Linked DNA regions of Homo sapiens: region 2 is linked to region 1. The links are contacts of gene promoters, found by promoter capture Hi-C in blood cells and fetal thymus (Javierre and others, 2016). All regions are on one chromosome and are shown on one strand. Each heading gives the region's core, a stretch centred on a gene start or on the middle of the fragment in contact. The rest is flanking DNA. Distances are from core to core; before and after follow the strand shown.

Region 1 (6,700 bases), core at 2,640-5,139:
AGAAATTTACAGTTAATTACAGCTGATTTCCCTTTGAACATGCATTTGTATGCTAACTGGCTGGGATGTGCAGGAAGTCAGCCTGTGACTATATAACACAGCAAGTCAATTGGCATGGTAACCTCTGATCTTGGGCTCATTAACTCTAATTCAGAGATACCTTTCCCCCTAATTTCGAGATACTCTAGGATGTCTGCAGTTAACTCGAAGAATGCCGTGGAATTCTCCAAAATTTACTGTAATTAAAAACAAAGAGACGCTATACAAAATTGCTTTCACTGCATCAGCAGAAGCTGACTAGGTCAGAATATTGTTTTGAGGTCTATGAAAGTTGCCAAGCTGGTAACTAAAATTGTTTTTACTCTATAGGAATTCTAACCATATAGTCAAAGAAGTAAATCCAAAATGTGCTGTCCTTTTTATGTGAAGATAATCCTACCTACATCTATTAATAAGAGAAATGAGCCAAGTTAGGTGAATATATAGCCTGTGGTCACAAATAGAGCAAAGGTAACTGGTTCACATGGGTATTAAATATGCAACTTCAGTCTCATGAGCACCATTGTTAAACTAACTGAATGGACTAGCTCTAAAAAAGGCACAGTTCTCTGCGTACCGATCAAGGGGTAAATGGAATCCTCTCTCCCCCTTTCCCAGAGGTTAGAAAAATATTTTTAATCAAATGGAACTATGTTTTGGCAACATTCCTTTTATTCTGTCCATATTTATGAGAGGGAGGGTACACGTGGCTCTTGCAGTGGTCTTAATCAAGCTTCTGTGAGTCACTGTGTTCTCGTGCTACTTGCATTCCACTCTTTCCCCTCACTCCTCCCCACCTCAGTTTGCTCATCTGTGTGTAAGTGGTTTGCATTGAATAGTGTTACGGATTCTTGCCAGTTCTATATGCTATGTATTTTTATTCTGTTACACTTTCTAAAACAAAAGATGCTTTTCTTCATAGTATCATCTTATGCAGTGTTCCCCACTATTCCATGGGGTAAAAAATTTTGACTACTCTCAAACTTCAATTGTCCCCTCTCTAATAGTAGTAGTCTTACCATTTATTGAAATACTTACTCTGCACCTAAGCATTTCATCTATATCATCTAGTAATCATCTTCATTTTACAGATGAGGAAACCGAGGCTCAGAAAGGTTAGGTAACTTGCTCAAGATTACTCAGCTAGTACGTGATAGAACTGGGATTCAAACCGGAGCCTATGCTCATAACAAAAATACTACACTGCTATTGCATTTATAAACAGGAAGATACACAGTTACTCACTGTGCAAAAGTAGGAACTTCACTTCTAAATTCAAACTAGATTTGCATGAGTACTGATTAATACATACCTGCTTACGGGCATGGCTTTGTTCCTCAGTAGGTATGTTCAGGGTGCTTTTGTAAAGGGTCCTAGCAATCAAGGAATAGTAGACAGAGATAATAGAGAGTGGAATAATGTAGAACACTAAGAAGCACAGCAGAGAATGTATTTCTTGCAAGAGCTTCTTAGAGACAGGATAAGAGGTACATGATTCAAATGTCATATTTTTATTGGGATCTCGAAAAGTGTATACATTTGAAAATATAGCCTCAGGTAGAGCAAATATCATAGACACGATCCAGACGCAGCCAGCTTTTACACAAGTCTTCAGGATGGCATTGGAGGGCTGTCGCTCAAGTGGCTTCACAACTGCCTTGTATCTAGAAACACATAATCAGAGGCAAAGGTCCAAATAAATGTCAAAGTTACCAAATTTTAGGGTGAGAAGTGACCTTAGTGGTCATCCAGTTCTACCCTCCGTGCATATGTGTATAACCAAGTCAACATTAACCAACTAGAATTGGCTATGGTTTTAAATGCACATAATACATCCCAATATTTTTATTTATGCTAATCTCCTTTTCCATTATTCACTCCTATGAGATATTCCAGATTTGCAATTTTATAATTTTATGTATAGACTCTCTATTTAGGACAAATAAACATTTATCAGCATGACTTTATGTGTGACTGAGAGTAATTCACCACCTGTGTATTACCTTAAGTGTAATACACTTAAGGTACCTAAAAGACTTCTTTTGTATAAGTGACTGATGTTAAACTGAATTAATTTTCCTTTCTTCATGAGTGAACAGTTATCAACCTTCCTAGAAGAGAATTCCAAGGGTTTATGTGGTAAAGAGGAGAGGATTAATTTCTTCCCCGTTTGTAAGTGTTAATTCGTTGCCCAACCTGATCAGTGGACAGATTTAGGGCGAGGCAAAGTTGCAATCAGAAGTCCTGTGCCGGTACAGAGATACCTCCTCATTCAAACAAATCCACCTTAAAATCTACAGTCATTAAGCCAGTCTGCCCTCAAATAGAATATAAGACCAGTCAAAGCAAAAATCATCAAAAGACACAGGGAAAGGTTTTCCTCCTCTCAGATTCTAGAATCTGAAGAAGTTATTCCTTCTGGTACTGCCAAACATCGATTACTTACAGGAATCTTGCAGGCTTTGTAAAGCATCATTTTTAACATTTGGAGCCTCAAATTTTTTCATGTTTTTACAGTTATTCTACAATAGGAACACAGAAAAACAGAGTACTTGGACTGAAAATATCCTAACACAGAATCTGAACACCCTGACTGCAAGAGGATCTCACACGCTCTCTCCACAGAGCTCTAAAAGTCAACCAAGATTAATTTATTTCTCTGGAAATGATAATGTCACTGAATGCCTACAGAGAAAACAAGTAGAATTACGTGATGACATTACACTAAGTTACCAGGGAGTTGAAAACCTCACCGTTTTTCTGCCATTAGCTAATTTGATGAATTTCAAATAAATTAGATGCCTGTGTCTTTTTACCACTCTTCCAATATACAGTTATACATATGTGGTCAATTTCACACCTATCCTGGTTTTCATGTTGACTATATTGCACCACTAGGCTGCACTAATGTATAAAGCATGAATTTTTTTCCTTTACACCTGGAACAATTTGCTTTACTTAATAAACTGGAGAAAAATAAAAACCCCGTTCAGTATACTTCCGAGCAAACAATAAGAATAAATTATCCATAAAGCATGCAATTTCAACTTCTCCTCCGTGCTAACACAGAAATTTTAACATTCTTACACTAACTTTTATTTTAAATGCCACCAGATTTTCCAATCTCACATCCACGTTACAGAGTGTGAGAAAAGCAGAATAGTAGCCAGTAAATGCTAAGTACAAGCTTTCCTTTCTTTTTGCCCAATTTCACATCCTGGCAAATATAATGGAGAAAAGAAACTCACCTGTCAGCGCTGAGAATTGTTAATGTGAACACTGACACACCAACAGAAGTGAGCCGGATGAAAGAGAGCACCTTACAACCAATTCTTCCGAACAGCCATCCTTCTGCAAGGTAGTGAGTTGCATCCACTGGCACACAAGTTAGCAGAAGTAAAAGATCTCCAAAAGCCAGGCTGGTGATGAAAATATTTGGAACTGTTTGCATGGATTTGGTCTTGAAAAAGACTTTGATGAGAATAGCATTTCCAAGGATGCCCACTGAAATGATCACAGCATAAGTAATATAGATGGCACACAATGCTTCTATTCCTGGAGAGTTGTCCCCGCTCCATCCTTTATTTGTGTTATCGTTAGAAACCACAGAGCTTGATGATTCTGTGTCATTTGTGATTGAAATTAAAGTCTGATTAGGTGAGTGAGGCTGCCTTTGAGCCATTTCTTCTGAAGACTGTGTCTTTAATATTTCTTCTTCTCAGTTCAAATGCAGTTGATTGTCACGTCCAATGCCTACGTCTAGTAACGAGATGGTATTAGGAGAACAGAACAGAACAGAATGGGAAGAAAATCCAAGACATCCAGATACTCCTTTGCTTCAGTTCTGTGTGTCTCCCAGCATGCTTGGCTAAATGCTTACCCATCTGGCACTGAAGAGTAGGAGGTGGAGTTTTATTGGCGTGTCCTGTCATAAGGAGAGGGAGGGGGCTGGGGAAATGCTCTGCAGTTGCTTATTCTTCCCTGTTGGGGAATCTTGGGACCAACTAGACCCTATTAAATCGTCTTATTTATTATTAGAATCACCCTGTTTTCATATCTACCCAGGATGGTCTATATAGGTTTTGTCAATTTTTTTTAAGAAAAAAACCATTTATCCCCCTGCAATCACATGGTAGTCTAGTGCATTTTGTTTTACATGATAAATAAGTGTAGGTGTCCCCTGAAGCACAACCTTGAACCCACTCCTCAAAATTTAATATCAGAGAGATGGTGAAGCAACAGATCATTTACACTTCGACAGGGTTTATGTCACCTCCAAGGAGTGATCATTCAGGTCACTTGGGCTTAATACCTAGCTCTGTCACGTGGTAAACCCCAACTTTGCAGTTATCCAGGCTGTGCTGTACACTATCAAAACAACCTTTTTAATTTTTTTTTTTTTTTTGAGATGGAGTCTCACTCTGTCACCCAGGCTGGAGTGCAGTGGCTCGATCTTGGCTCACTGCAACCTCCACCTCCTGGGTTCAAGCAATTCTCCTGCCTCAGTCTCCCGAGTAGCTGGGATTACAGGCGCCCGCCACCATGCCTGGCTAATTTTTGTATTTTTAGTAGAGACAGGGTTTCACCATGTTGGCCAGGCTGGTCTTGAACTCCTGACCTCAGGCAATCCGCCTGCCTCAGCCTCCCAAAGTGCTGGGATTACAGGCATGAGCCACCACACCCAGCCAAAACAACCTTTTAAGAGATGAAAAATCCAGGCACAGCACCAGTTGCTTTGTCTCTAAATGTCCTAATAAAACCACTTTTTACTGTTTGACTGTCTGTTTTAATGCCATGTTTTCTTTTAAGGGGCTGTTTAGGATTTTTCTCTCTAGAAATGGTTAAAGGGAACCTAACCTGCCTTATTCCAAAACAAAACAATACAGAACATCACTGCTCAAGCTCCTGACACAAAAGAACTTTTAAGAATGAAAATCATCATTTGCAGATGAAGAAATGAAATAGGTGACTCCAGGGATGATGGGCATGTAGATGATGTTTACATCAACTGAAAGAAGTACACATTTAAGGCAACCACCTCAGTACCAGCCAGAGAAGCTACTTTTTACAGAAAACATAACCATGTGCTTTATATGTATGTGTTTGTGGTGGGGGCACTGTTTGGGAGCAGGAAGCTAGCAGTTGGAGTGTAGTTACTAATTGAAGCTGCTAAGAAATATTCTCTGAAATTATCAAATGCAATGCATAATCTCTCAGCTAGAAACCATGTAGTGAGGTGTTCATAAATATAACCATATTAGAAAGTAGTCTGGGGAGCGAAGTGAAAAAGAGCAAAGTATTTGGCTAGCTAATGAACAGGGGGAACAACAAAGGTTGTTCTTTATACTTAGTAGGGGCAATCAGTTCTTCAGAGAAAGTGAAGTGGATGAATTGAATCAATTACCTCCTTAATTTCATGAAGGGTGGAAGACAGATGTGGTTTAAGTCCCCCAAACCACACCTATCCCCCACCCTTTATAAGTTATTGCCACAGCTTGAATCACTCAGCTAAATAACTGCCTTTGATGGGAATGGGGGTGCGGGGGAGTGTTTGCATAAACCCAAGTTCCTAAGCTTTCAGATATATACACTCTAGTAATTTCATACACTGGGCTGGTTCTTTAAGATTGTCTCTACAGAAAAGGGCTCCTTAAAGGGTTCACATCTTGTTCTCAGCAAACTAATGATAAAATCTCCCTGGGACTCCTGTGTATCATTTACCAAGGAGCAAACCATGTCTTCCAATTCACACCACAGCCGATCTCCACATGGCACTGTTTTGTAAGTTCTGTAATGCTTGCATGTGATTTCTGAGATTATCTGAATTCCCAGATCTCACTCATGCTTTCAGCAGGCTGCAGCCACTGGAATACTTTTTCTTCTCCCTCTTCCTTCTGATCAAGAGCGGTCAAGAGAGAGTAGTTGTATTGGAGTAGTACTGGAGCAGTGGGGGTCTTAGATCTCTAGAATTCCAGAATCCCAGAATATCAGAGATGGAAGTGACCCTAGACATGATCAAATCAAATGCTCTCATTTTGCAGAGGCAGAAATGAGGTCCAGAGTAGGGAAAGTATCTCACCCAAGGTCTCACAAGTTCTCAACAGAACTAAGATGAAACACAGATTCTCTTTGGCTTCTGAAAGGTTAAAAATCAGTGACAAGAGCTGAAAAACACTCAGTTCCTGACAATGAGCCATATTTGCTCATTTGGCATTGTAGGCTTAGGTTTTCTGCGTGTTCTATTAACCAAAGAACAAGAGATTTCCAGGCTAACCAGTGATTCATGATAGATAATTTAAATGCATTTGCTTTTGTATCTCTTTTACAACCTTATAATTCACTAGCAAAAGATAACCATGTCTTGTTAATCATTTTTAGCTAGGCACTTGGCCTATACAAAATGATGAAATCCTTTTTTGTTTTTAGTACATAAGTGGTCAATATTATCATCCAAGATTTTCAAAACAACTACTTGGTTTTAGATAAGGAATTGTAATACAATCCTAATGCAGCTTTTTGACTCAGAAAAGTATTAGAAGTTGAATGAATAAGTTACCAATTTTCTGAAGTTGTGTTTTCTGGTTCACAGCCCAATTTAGTTGGTGTTGTAAAAATGTTTTTTTAAGTCTCTAAGGAGCTGGGCATCTAAGGGTGCTGAAGA
Region 2 (6,564 bases), core at 3,140-5,639, 570 kb before region 1:
GCACAGAACTTCCCTCCTACTCCACTCCTAACCACACTAAAAACCAGAGCCTCTTTTACTTCAGCCCAATGGACAGGCTTGAGTGCTTTCCCTAATCTCTCCAGAAAACCTCATGATGTGAATAATAAACCTTTTCATACCCTCGTGGTACATGTGTGGCATCATCAGTCTCAAGATCTAAACTCTTGGGTAGGGGTAAGGGACTTGGCCTTCCCCTCTGAGAAGAAACCTCAAGACCATTGGTGCTGAGAGCTGGATGGTCTAAGAGATGACTATTGCCTCCTGGAGGGCTTTCTTCTCTTGATTTCAGTTTACTAACTGGCTCTGCAGCCTGCTGGCAAGCATGCACTCAGAGCTGCTGCCTGAGTGTGCTCTTTGAGCTGCACTCCTGCCTGCTAGTAAGTTTGTGTTAGAGTTGTTGCCCTAAGTCAGAAGTTTTGCATTTAGGGACAAGAGTACAGGATTGCAGCCCTCCTTAAAATGGCCCCAGTTTTGGTATCCCAGCCCAAACCTATCTGTTTCAGATTGAATCATGTGCCTCAATTTCAGCATGAACTGGGACTGATGCTAGACTCAGAGAGATGACTCTTACTCTGTGTCTATTGGTTGTGCATTTCAGCCATGCATTGGTCTCATTCTATAGAGTGTTCAAGAAAAAGATTGATACCATGTGCAATATGCAGGCCCATCAGGTGGTCATGGGTGATTGCTGGTGTGAGGAAGAAAATAGGCCGTCACTATGTCAAGTGCTGAGGTCACATTCTTAAAAGAAGTTGGCTCATTAGGACCCTAAGTGCTTCTAGTGCAAAAAAGATCCTGATCCTCAGAATTATGAGGAGAAACACCCATGACACCCCCGTGACAGAAACCCTTATGAAAAGCACTCTAAATGTTTTTCCCCTACCCCTCTTAAAGAGCCAGAGGACACCATCACCCTATTGGATAATTGTAAAATGGACCAATGAAGACTCTAGGTCCTATTGAGAGCCACAGCTGATCAACATGCCAAGGAGTTAATTCAAACTTGACTTAAGTTTAGTGTACCTTGACCCAGTGAAATAATAATTGCCATATTAAAGGCCCCTAACCCTGATGATACTGATTTGGGACTCTCTGGAGGAAGAAATTTATAAACATGATCAGAGACAACCCCTTTCCCCCCATAAGGTATATCTGGTAACCACCAAAACAATAACAACAACAAAACAAAAAATTAATACAAGGTGAGGAAAGAGTAGCTGAAGCAGAGGTCTGAAATTTGACCAAATTGTATATCCAAAATTTACTAAAATAATTTATGCAACAGAAAAATGAAAGAGTGCTGATTGGCTTTTGCACCTGACATAGATTCTAAATTAACTTTAACATCTGCTGAAATGCATTAACTGGCAAACTTTCATGGCCTTAATTGATACTAGGGCTCAAATCACAGTTATACATGGAGGTCCACTAAATGTAAATGTGGGATCTTCTATTCACTTACGGAAGTTACCAGATATAAAAATAGAAAACAAACAAGTATGTTTCACCTTAACCATCAAGAACTACTGCCTTAACTAAATTGCCCATGGTCATAGTGCCCATTGCCCTACATAGCTGGACCCTCTCAGCACCCACATCATTAAATGAAGCCCAACATCTTTCAGACATTTTTGGTCCTAGAGGTAACATATTCTTTGTTTACAATTTTTGCTTAAGCTCACTTACACAATTTTTGCTTAAGTTCAGCCCATCTTGTATGGGACCTCCTGCTACAAAAGGCTCCAGAATCTGTCTAAACTGCAATGGCAGTTCTATTAGTGCCCTCCAAAGAGTTCTTCACTGTAGAGGTTTTAGCAACCTCTTGTGTCTTGTGGAGTCTCTGGACCACCTATGATGACCATAAGTTGTCTGTGGGTTATTGATGTGAAAGAAAAACCTACTCTCCTCAGCCCCACACTACATACCATTAGAGCAGCAACTGCTGGCTGCATACTATGCTGTTTTGGAGACGGAGACTCTGACAGGGGGCTCTCTGCACCCAGCTGCCCATTATGCTTTTGATCATGAAGGCCACACCCCTCCTTATTGAAATGAAAATGATACTTACATGATGGAGCCAAACCTGGACCCTCTGGCATATTCCACTGAAAGGAAGGGGTGGCCTCTCCTGTTCCCAGTCCTTTAAGAGATGCAAAGGAGATTACCCATGTCTCAGATGCAATGACCACATGGGGAGCCCCTTGGGATCAACTGGATGATAAGAAAAGGGAGTCTGTACACCTTACACATGGCAGTGTTGCTGGAGAGCTGCTGCTGTCTATCTCCTACCCTGGATGTCCCTGATCAAGGATGTTACCAACAATCCGGCCATCTGGTCTAACCAATGGCACCTACGATCCCTTATCCAAGGTTTCCCCCTTTAAGGCAAAGAATTCTGGAAATTTATTCCCTCACAAATAACCAAAATACAAATCAAGCACATATTTAACACCATAATACAAGGCCTCACCAAGGAACTAATTATCCTCTTCAGAGTTCCAGACATCATTGACAGTGACCAAGGCACTCATTTCACTTCTCAGAATCCACAATGCTGGTATCTTAAACAAGATATTCAAAGAAACATTCACCTCCCTTACTGGTCTCAGGCTGCAGGCCTCATAGAGCACCATAATGGCTTACTTAAACAAGTTCAAATTCAATTAAATAAAACGTAGCACAATTCAGTCATCAGTGAAACATCAGAGGTGAATTGCAACAGAGTCTCACTTCGATTTTGGTGTTTGACTGCCAACAGCTTTCAATCCCAACTATCCCCTTTCCCTTTTTCCCCATATTTAAGCAAGCCCATAAGAAAGTCTAGGTAATACTTCCTTTGGAGCCCATGGGGAAGTTCAAACCATGCAAACTTCAGCCCATGCATGTGAACTCTCACCCCAACCCCGTGCCCTAACTACAATAAAATCAAAGCCACTAGCCCCTTCCTTCACTCAGCCTTTGGTGTCTGCTTTTGGACCTGTTTGGGGGGCCTGCCCTGCCCTCCCAAGAAAGTCTCATGATGCAAGTATGCCTTTTCATACTTCTTGGTGCATGTGTGACATCAGCAGCCTCAACTTCCAAACCAGTTAGGGGTAAAGGGTTGATCCCACCCTCCTTAAGGCAACCACTAGACAGACATTCTAATTAATAAGCATTATAAAGCTTATTAATCATGTTTCTAATGAAAGCTAACCCCACCTCCAGCAGAAATTGACTTTTAGTTACAAAGGGGATTTTCTCAATTGTATTTGTGAAGGAAGAAGACATTTTAGAAGCTTACATAACATGTCACATAGCTCCCCCACTCCCACTTAGCTGCAGATTAATTTCCCCTTAAATGTATTCGCAAAAGCTGACTTTTCCAGTCAGGCAGAAAAGAATACAAGATTCAAAGTCGTCATCTGTGCAGAAATCCTGATAAAGACTTTAAAGAACTGCAATGTCACAGCTCCCCTCAGATTGTTAATCCTTGAAAAGGGGAGTCTACGTTGTCCAAGCAAGCTTTGTTAATGCTATAACCATCACACATTTGACCAACAACAACAACAAAAAAGCAGCAGCATTAAGATTGAAGTTCTAAGTAGGTTTTATAGAACAGAAGGCTCTGTAAGACGTTGTATAGTGAAAATGATACTGACAAATGCCATAGCAACCAAAACTGCTTGTTGCCTTGTGAAAATTAAAATCTTCCTGATAGTCAGGCATTCGATGTGTGCCCATAAATGAGCATGTGAATAAAAAGGCTCCCTTGGAATAAAAATCCATTCCATCATTGCTAACACTGTTCAGGAAAGGGGAAACTTTGATTCTAAAAATCTCTTTTTCTCAGACCAATCCTGCACAGAAGATATCAATTTTGGCTTTCACTGAAAACAGTAAGAAGAAATCTGTATTTATGCGAAAATGTGAAGCAGAAAGATGCCTCCAGAAGCATCCACTTAACTGCCTGCCCATCAGCGGGGTTGTGCTCCCAGGCAAGGCTCTTTAGAAATACTGTGTTTCCACAGAATGGGATTTCATTTCCTCCCTTTGCTGAACACTGATCACAGCCCTCACTCACAGAGTTCTTTCTGAGTCTAACTTCCATTCTTCTTGCTTCTTCTGTCAGTGCTTCTCATTCTTTTGGAGATTGTTTTCCTTACACCCAACTGGTAGATTTGATGATGGTTCAGCATCCTGTCAGTTTTGGGATAAGTCCTCAGCTCTTTAATCCAGCCTGGTCCATAGGTTAACAAACTCAGAAACATTCCTATTCAATCGCCATGCTCACCCTAGCACTAGTCCTCTTGAACATGAATCCTCCTCTCTCTCTTTCCTAGGAGTTGCTGCACTTCACTATTCTCATGAAAAAAGAATTCTAGTGGACAGGTGTTTTCTCCTTCTACTGTGCCCCCACCCCCACCTCAAATCAACAGGTTCTCAGGATCCACAATCTCACCAAAAGCAGAATGAACAACAACTTAAACTCTTCTTATGAGCTTCCCACTTGATGAACCTCTCTGATCCTCACTCAGCCCTGTAGGTGGTTGTTGTCCATTTCCACATGAGGAAACTGAGGCTCTGAGTCAGAGGGAAACCACTCAAAGTACTAGTACTTCGGAGAAGGAAGAGTCCAAACTTTAACTCCTAGTTGCCAAATGTGCCCCAGGGGCCTCAGGCTAGCCCAACTCCCCACCCACCATCCAGCCTGGAGATCTACGTCAGTCCTTCCCTCCCAACTTGAAAAGTGCTGGTGACACCAATGAGAATACCCAGTAGCCCTTTCTGGGAGTCCAGCCTACCAACCCAACTGAAGAACGCCTCATACAGAAAACAAACAAACTAACCATGCCGAGGTACGCCCCTCAGGCCCTCTGCCTAATTCTCTCAGGGGTCTTGCCTACTTCCCTGTAAGCCAAAGATATATGAGTCTCTGCTAAGTCGTGAGCAGTGGGAATCTTCTTTGATATTTGGCCTACTCTTCCCTCCCAATTCTTCTACTTGCAAGGAAGTTGCACAGTTGCAGAGAGGAGCAAGCATTTGAAAACTGACAGAAGAAATCAAGTTTGAACCTTGGATTTTGTACATGTCGGACAATAGAATTTAACATATAGAGAATATGTGCAGTTCGCTGCATAGCCCAGGGGTTAGAACACTGGCCTTTTAAAATGTAGAGGATGTAAGAGGAGAAAAAGAAAAAGAAGAAAAACACGCATTTAAGAAGACCCATACAATATGAGTGCTGCTGTAAGCTTTGGATTGTTTGAAGGTGGCATGCAATATTTTTTGCAATTGTATTTCTCTTATCATTTTCTCTCTCCAGCCTCTTACAAATCTCCCTTTCACAGAAAAGACTTTTAGTGATGGGTACTGAATTGGAATGTTCTACTTGTGATGAACCTGTCCTACCGAGTTTACATAAAAGGAGAGGGGAGAAGGAAAAAAAAATCAAATAAGAGAAGATAATGCCATAATTCAAGCAATAATAATTCTTCTTACTTTGTACTTTAAAACATTTTAACATTGGAAGGGATGAATACATGTTCTCGCAGCCTCTGCTATTCAATAGTAAAATTCATTAGGTGGCAACAGAGAGAAACCTTGGTGTCATTAAGAACACAGAGAAGGGGGGAAATGAAGGCCAGTGTTACAAGCCCCATGGCCAAATTCAGAAATGAATGATAATTAAATTGCCTTTCAAAGTGCGCTCGCGAGCCAGACACACGTTTTGAATCCCATCCACATTTGCAGAGGGAAGAGGTAGACAACGCCTGGAATGTTGTCTTTCAGAAGTATTAATGAGCACTATAAATTTCATCCACGTATTAATGATAATTCAGTCCTCATTAAGCGCCCGTGCTGATAGCAACCCACATTTCGGCACAGCAGGCCCTGGCAAATTTATTTTCCCTTTGTTAAATCCAGTTTACTCTACCAGTTTGCCAAGCAATAGACAGAAGCTGCGAGGGTGGTAGAAATCGATGTCTAAGTCTGACCAAACACCGGGTTTTCTAAAACGACAGCGCCTGCGCGCGAGCGGCACGCGGGCATCTTCCTGGCATCCGAGGAGATGGGGCTGCGCCTGGGGCCACCGGGTTACGTTTAGTGAGGAGTAGACTGCCCCTTTCTCCTCTCAGTGCTTCTCCAAACAAAAATGGTAGCGAAGGCAGCAGATGACAGTCGCGAGGGCGCTGCGAGATGGGGACTCGCACCTCGAGTTGAGTTAGGGGTGTGGGTGACCCCTGCTGAATCCTATCGCAGGCGCTGTTCTCTGGAGGAGACGGCGCCTTCGGGGGCAGGTGCCGCAAAGTCAAGAACCGACAGAGCCCCCCGGTTTTAGTAAACTTTTAGCTAAATAAATAAATAAACAAACAAGAAGCGGTCTCGGATCTGCGTCTTATGGGTCTGTGGGGGATGGTCAGGACACCCAGGAATGAAGATTGGGGTATGCGGCCGTGCCGAGGGATCTTCACAAACACCCTTGGTGGGGCGGGGAGAGCTGGGGCCGCGGGCACCCGCGCAGTGACAGCTCCTGGGCACTAGAGGGCGCCGTGCGCGCAGTTT

What was found. Contacts are between HindIII fragments. The CHiCAGO score rates a contact against its expected background, and 5 or more counts as called.
Region 2: a fragment that was not itself captured here is called in contact with the fragment with the promoter of BRS3 in region 1 in 1 of 17 cell types (activated CD4 T cells); the score reaches 5.2 in activated CD4 T cells.

What each region holds. Positions count from the first base shown.
Region 1 is chrX:136,485,136-136,491,835 of GRCh38, reverse strand. It overlaps BRS3 (bombesin receptor subtype 3), which reads right to left and starts at 3,889. Exons shown (of 3, transcript NM_001727.2): 1 at 3,288-3,889; 2 at 1,352-1,703. The coding sequence starts at 3,721. The HindIII fragment of the contact is 2,387 bases long and covers 3,229-5,615 here.
Region 2 is chrX:137,052,550-137,059,113 of GRCh38, reverse strand. No RefSeq gene overlaps it. Among named protein-coding and RNA genes, the nearest start is that of GPR101, 22 kb to the right of the region's middle. The HindIII fragment of the contact is 1,730 bases long and covers 3,525-5,254 here.